2 separate regions of the Homo sapiens genome follow, and region 2 is linked to region 1. The links are contacts of gene promoters, found by promoter capture Hi-C in blood cells and fetal thymus (Javierre and others, 2016). All regions are on one chromosome and are shown on one strand. Each heading gives the region's core, a stretch centred on a gene start or on the middle of the fragment in contact. The rest is flanking DNA. Distances are from core to core; before and after follow the strand shown. Region 1 holds the start of ANKRA2 (ankyrin repeat family A member 2). Region 2 holds the start of MTX3 (metaxin 3).

Region 1 (3,276 bases), core at 531-3,030:
TACAGTGTATCTTGGGTGATTTTTTCACCAAGTATAGGATATGTCTGAATAGCTACAGGCTTATAACCAGCCATAATTCCATATAATTGCACTATTGTCCAAGAGTCACTATTTTGGAATTGGTATTAGAAATAATTACAGTGACTCTGCCTTAATTCTGAAAAATAAAATATTTTATATACATATTATAAGCTTGTACACATAGTTGATTTTCACTCTGCTTTCTTTAAAAAGTCTGTGTGGAAGTATATAGATTAGAGACCAATAAGCCATTTAATTCTAACCCAGAAAAGGCAATCTATAGGAAGCAGGAATAATTAAAGTGAAGGCTATCATATCGCACCATCTATTCAGCTGTACACAAAGGTTCTCACACCTAGCCAACCATTTTACAACACTTAGGAATAAATCTAGCACAGCCTTACAGTAGCCAAACCAAAAAGGATCATGCTGGCTTTGAGTGTCCATTTTTTGGCAACAGGAAATATTAAGGTGAAACTGCAAATACAAGTTTCCTGAAACCAAGTTTAAGATGACATTTAATCTATAACAATTATAGTTACGGATTTGATTTCCTGAAAGCCTAAAAATGCCAAGAAGTAAGAAACACAAAGCTAATATTCTAATGTAGAAGCTTAAAATTAAATTTACTTTAAAAGGTTTAAACAGTAGGAAAGAAAACTGTAATAAAGCAGTCCTGAAATTAAATTCAACACTAAAGTGGCAGAATAGGATAAAACTTTTAAATAACATGCAATCAAGCCAAAACATTTTTCCAGAACGACTCAATTGCAAAAGAGATTCAATGTTATCAGGTAAATGATTCCAGAGGTGCTGCTCATCATCTATTCCAAAAAGCCTGAAAACTTTACATTAGTAACACCACGATAAATAGGTGTAACATATATTTAAAAGGTGCTTTAATGAAATACAATGACCAATGATTGTATTTCACTGGTCTTTGGGAACACTCTTCTGTTCATTAAAGTACCTACCAATGTGCAGGACACTGCTCTAGGCACTGGGGCTATAATGGTGAATGAAATAAAGACATGGTCTGTGCCTTTGCTTACTCCAATATACTCCATTTTGGCTGGTGACTGGCACCAGATATTAACCTAGACTCAGCCTTGACGTGTCCTTTTCTTCCTCACTCCTAACATCCAAATAGTTAACAAGATCTGCTGATTTTATCTCCCAAATATTTTAAAACTCCATTAGGTTCACTTCACCTGAGGGAGCCTCGTAAGCAAAGGCAAAGATGGAAATGTGTCCATTGCCTTGGAGAGTTGCTGATTACTCCGGGAACTAACAACGGTGGACAGGAAAGGGTGTAATCGCAGAGAAGAACCTAGGTCGAAGCTTAATTGAGGGGAACTTGAGCCGGTTAAAGAATTTGGCCACTCTCCTATATAGCCTGGGAAGCCCCAGAAGAGCATGCCAGATTAACACAGGAAGGCCGGGTGTGAGTGTGGGCTTCCCTCAATGGGAGCCGCCTTCACCTACCTCCACTGAGCCCCAAAGGGTCCGACGAGACACCTCGACCCAAGGACAATTAATCGGACTGTGCCAGCTCCCTACCCTGCACAGTTCAGCAGCACTGGCGTAAAAATCACATGGACCCTCAAGGAGCCGGCGACACACACAGCGAACCGAACGTCGCGCGAAGATGACGTACCAGAGCACGCTCATGAGACTCACGCAGCCCGGCGGCGCAGAGGCGGGTCAGGTGGGCGGGGCGATCTGGAGTAGGAGGTGTGACCGGAGGGCGAAATTGGGGCTTCCTCTGCTCTGGTGACCCAGAACCGTCAACTGAAATGACCCTGTCTGTGTAGTACTCCGGCAGGATGGGCCTCGGAGCGTAAAGGCGGCAAAAACAAAAATATTAAAAAAAAGGAGAGAGGGACAAAAAAAAGAAAACCCGAAAGTTTCAGCTGCATTGCTGCGGAACGTTTTTTAGCCAGAAGGCGAAAGAAGAAATCGGAAGTGACGTCGCGGCCAAAACAAGCCCGGGCTTGGAGGCCTGTACTGAAGCTGGCCTCAGATGGGAAGGCCCGACTCGCTGTCTGCTGTCGTCGGTGGTCGCGAGACCTTGCACTCTCACCGGGTCGGCCTCCAGCCCCTGTGCCCGGGATCCGCTCGCCGCGGATGAGCGAGAGTTTCTTCCTGGGACTTTTCGGGCACAGCTGGCCGGTGGCGACAGAACGGACTTTCTTTCCTGCAAGAGTCTCCCCTCCAGCGGGAGACAGCGGGCTCCTGTCTCGGGACGCTGGGACACCTGTCGCCTGTGAGGCATCATTTATTTTCATAGCACCTTCCTCTCCTTGTAGAATAATTCCAGGATCAGGAAGAAACGAGGGGCTCCTGTTATTAGCATCCACAGGAACTAGCATAGCTGCCCACTTTATCTCCGTAGACTCTCTATCCCTTCATCCCTGGGCTCTGACAGATCGAGGTGAACCTAGCTATCGATTGCCTTACCCCCTTTTTCTCACCACCACCTCTTCTAAGTCCTGTTACCCCACTCCCCTCACCCCCGCCTCCCTCTCCTGTTCTTCAAAATTTTGGCCTACCAATCAACTTTGCTTCTCCTCTCGTTAAACTGCTGTGCCAAGATAAGCGTTCATTTTCCACCCACCCCCTTCGCCTAAGCACATTTGCTATTCTCCTCTCGAAGACCTGTAATTCCATCTATAAACCCTGATTTGTAACATGGAAGCTGTTTAGAGCTGGAAAGAATATTAGAAAGGCCTATTTCAACACCTTTTTATAATAGATGAATTTCAGAAAACTTGTATTATTTATTTGTCCAGGAGTGGCCAGCTAGTTAGTAGCGATGTTGGGAGTGGAAAGCCAGGTCTAATCAGCAAATGTTAGAAATAGAAAAGAATATGGAAAAAATTGTTAAAGTTAAGATCAGAAAACATTTATGGAGCACCTGGTAGGACCAAGTACTGTTCTGTGTGCAAAAATTAGTAAGAGTGGTCCCCATCCTAGGGGAGTTTTCAATTTAGCTGTTATTTAAATGGAAATTGTCAAAAGGATGGTGAATGCTAAAATACAGATACATGCAGGGTGCTCAGAGAGCTTAGGGGAGTTGCACTTAGCCAACCGCTGGATAGGAGAAAGGGGGAGATGGTTCTTCCCTCAGGAAACACAGTTCACATTGTCCAGTCCCTTTTAAGACGCATGGACTAATGCATTGCACATCCATCTCCCTTTGAATCACTGAACTAATTTTCTTTTCTGGTTTCCTTCTTTTTGCCCAAATGTATT
Region 2 (3,615 bases), core at 533-3,032, 6.4 Mb before region 1:
ATCCACATTCTTTCTGTATGATTGTTTTAAATGCCTGAATGTAGTATATGGACCCTCAGCTTTATGGCTTAGGATTTTCTTTCCCCCTGCCTTGCCTTTGTCAGTCTATGGTTTGACATTTCTAACCCTCAAAACAGGGAGGTTCCATTACAATCTGAAAGTTGAATTACTTTACTTTCTTTATACTGAAGACTCAACAGATAGTCTCCACTGATCACACAGAGGATGCACTGTCCCTCCTTTGTGTTTCTGTAGTATTTTGCTTATATTTCTAACCCTACTCGTGATTATCTGACTTGTTACACCTTGGTGTGTGTATATCTCCTTTGTGCACTGTAAACTCCCGAGGACAGAATTCATGTTTTATATATTTCTGTATTGTTCCAGAACCTTATGATGTCTAAGACATAGGAGCTGCTCAATAAATGTTTCGACAGTTTTAATGGTACATATGTTATGCATTTTCCAATTATACAGTTATTATTAATGAATTCTCATTTCTGACATATCTCTTTTTCATTTCTTAGAACTCTTGGTTTTGAAACATGTAAAAAAGACTTTAGCAGGCTGGCACTGTAATTTGAATGATTATGTAAACAGTAAGGGAGTGCCTAGCAAATATTTGTTGAATAGTAATTTTACGAAAAGTTGCAGAGGTTTCTTTTGAGTTTTAGTTAAGAAGATCCGACCATCTCAGTGGAATAGAGGAAAGAACTCAGAGGCATGACTGCGAGGGTGTCCCAGAAAGACTACTGTGCCTTCTAGAAAAAAGACCCAGCACCCAAGTTCTAACTCTGAGACCCAGTCATATGTTTGGATCATAGCATTTCCAAGACCAAAATTTCCTCTTTAATAGTTTTTCTGAGAAACTGTCAGGTTTAACGTCAAGAAACATTTAGTCTGTGCTCATTAGGCCCACAGACATGACGAGCTACATGATTTGAGGGGCCCAGTCCAAAATAAAAATGCAGAGCCCCTTGTTCAAAACTTAAGAATTTCAAGACAGTGACGGAAGAGCATCAGCCAAATGAGGAGCCTTTTTAAGCACAGAGCCTTGTGTGGCTGCACAGGTCCCAAACCTATGAAGCTAGCCCTCTTCTGTGAAAGGCAAAAGGTCTGTAGCTAGGGAGAGAAGCTACAATTCAAATATGCACAAGGGGCTACAAGAACCCAGAGCTCCTAACTTTGTAAAAACATCACAGGGAAGGTGAGTTAAGCTCATTTTTGAGGGAGCAGCTGCATAGGGAAGAAAGATATTCCAGATTGAAGGACCAGCACTGAAGGTGGGCACAATTTACCTGACGTTCAGAAATACTGTAACTTTTAAGCAGGGTTGTGCCAGTGAACATGAGGGTGAGAACAGGTTGAGGCTGGAAAGGCAGGCAGAGGCCACATACATGGGAGAAGGGGTTGAACAATTACTGAGTGCCTCCTGTGTGCCAAGTTCTTTCTCTCCGACATTGTAAATACCACAATCTTGTAAATACTGGGTCATCCCTGTTTTACAAACAGGTTAATTTAGGCATCACACAGATTTAATGTTCAAAGGGTTTGGAACACTCTAGGGATCTAATAAATATTAATATTTGAAGAATTACTGGTGGGTCTGACTTAAGGCACACAACTCTTACCCTTTAGGCCAAGCTGCTCCTAAGAGTTCTTCTTAATCCCTCCAGTCGTTGTTTCTCTCATCTCTCAAGAGCCCCCAAATTACCCTTCCCTCCCTTAGCCACGCCCCCGCGTTTCACGTGCCGGAAATTAGGAGGAAAAGTACTTCCGGGATAGTAAAGGTCGGCCCGCGCAAGATGGCGGCCCCCTTGGAACTCAGTTGCTGGGGAGGCGGCTGGGGACTCCCATCGGTTCACAGCGAGTCCCTGGTGGTGATGGTGAGGCCGCCTCGCGGGCCAGGGCGCAGGAGGAAGGGGCGGGGCTGGAGGCGCCAGGCTGACTTGCCCCAGTTTCCCGCTGCGCTGCGGGGTCCAGGAGGGCCGAGCCGCTGCACGCTGCATTGCCCTGGGCTCCCTCCCACCGACGAGTCCCAACCTGGCCGATACCCCCGCCGAAGGCCGGCGGCGACATCAAGGCTTCTCCGCTTGGCTCCGAGTTTTGTCCGCCTCACAAAGCTGTCTGGGCGGTGGAGTGAAACCCCGAAGCAAGGGGCGCGCCCTCCCTACTCTGCATCCCCAGGACCTTTTGGGGAGCAAAGTCCTCGAAAGCCGGGTGGCTGGCGCCCGCGTCCCTACTTGAGATCACGGGGAGGGATGCGGCCTCAGTATCAGTCGCCTTCTGCCTTTGGGGGATGGGGCTGTGAAGTAAAGCTGCTCTGCAGCTTTGCATTACGCACTTGGTCTAAAATGTTTGATTGCAAACTCTGTTTCAGGCTTATGCCAAATTTTCTGGTGCACCCTTGAAAGTCAATGTGATAGATAACACCTGGAGAGGTTCAAGAGGTATAGTGTAAACCTTTACACTCCCCTTTCTGCACTCTTTTTTTTCTTCTTCCATTTAAAGCTGTGAGGTATATAGCTATAATATTGAGGATTTAGTTTCTTACCGTGACCTTGGCTCTGTGTTGTTTATGGTTTGATCATTCTGAGTAATACCTCAAAGTGCAAGCGAAATCACTGGAAATTATGAGAAACGAAAATGTTCTTTAGAACCGCTCTTTGTGAAACAGCAAAAAAACCAAGACAAGCTTACTCATTTTTTCCCCTCTAAATGTGCAACTGCTATAGTTTTTAGGATATTGGAATCTCTCAGAGGAAATCACACTGTGTCCTTGTATGTAAACTGTTTTTTGATTATAGGCGATGTACCAATTTTGACAACTGAAGACGACATGGTTTCTCAGCCAGCAAAAATACTAAACTTTTTAAGAAAACAGGTGGGTGGTTCACTTTGAAGAAGTAGATTGGTAGATTGTTGATCCCTGCATGTTGGGCTTTATTTTATTTATTTATTTTTTTTTGCCAACTCATTAGACAATTGGAGATACCTGGGACAAGATGTAAAAATAGATTTGAGAATCACTGCTCTAAAGCATGAGTTCTGTGATTTGAAAGTCATATGAAGAGGTAGTCAGTTTATATTTTAATAAACTTTGCTTGAATTTTATTGAAATTTGTATGTAAGTAGATTTAATTAGCCATTTTCACTATTAAACTTATTGATAGGATTGTGTATTTTGTCACATAGTTGGTACACATTTTGTGCTGGGCATGACACCTGAGCTCTCACCAACTAGCAACTATATTATTTTTAAAAAGCTCTTAATAGCAGTTTTATGGAATAATGTATCTAAATGTTTTAACAGTAGAGAATTATGTATCCAAAATGTTTAAACATGTAAAGATTTATATGAATGGATAAGTTATTTGTTTTGCCAATACTGTACTTAAAAAAATTGTGTCAATAACATTTTGAACTTTTATAAATTGGAAGGTTTTTTCTTTTGTCTTGGGGAGAAACACAGCCAATTGGAACTGTTTCCTTCTTGTTAAAAATAATAGTTGCTTTGTTTGTACTACATGCCATGCACTGAACTAGGTCATTAACAAGCATGAAAATAATAGTAGTTAATATTGTAACATTTATTGACCATATTGTGTATGTGAT

Evidence for each region. The method cuts DNA at HindIII sites, captures the fragments that hold promoters and counts their contacts. A CHiCAGO score of 5 or more calls a contact.
Region 2: the fragment with the promoter of MTX3 here is called in contact with the fragment with the promoter of ANKRA2 in region 1 in 1 of 17 cell types (total B cells); the score reaches 5.4 in total B cells.

Annotation. Positions count from the first base shown.
Region 1 is chr5:73,564,143-73,567,418 of GRCh38, reverse strand. ANKRA2 (ankyrin repeat family A member 2) reads left to right here and starts at 1,780. Exons shown (of 9, transcript NM_023039.5): 1 at 1,780-2,287. UTP15 (UTP15 small subunit processome component) reads right to left here and starts at 1,676. Exons shown (of 13, transcript NM_032175.4): 1 at 1,507-1,676; 2 at 1-157. The coding sequence starts at 74. RefSeq lists enhancers at 1,411-1,965, 1,537-2,096, 2,107-2,316, 2,337-2,386, 1,966-2,520. The HindIII fragment of the contact is 2,502 bases long and covers 1,365-3,276 here.
Region 2 is chr5:79,989,429-79,993,043 of GRCh38, reverse strand. MTX3 (metaxin 3) reads left to right here and starts at 1,782. Exons shown (of 9, transcript NM_001363818.2): 1 at 1,782-1,886; 2 at 2,381-2,450; 3 at 2,808-2,884. The coding sequence starts at 1,806. It also overlaps a transcript of THBS4 not described here. RefSeq lists an enhancer at 2,115-2,284. The HindIII fragment of the contact is 4,262 bases long and covers 1-2,697 here.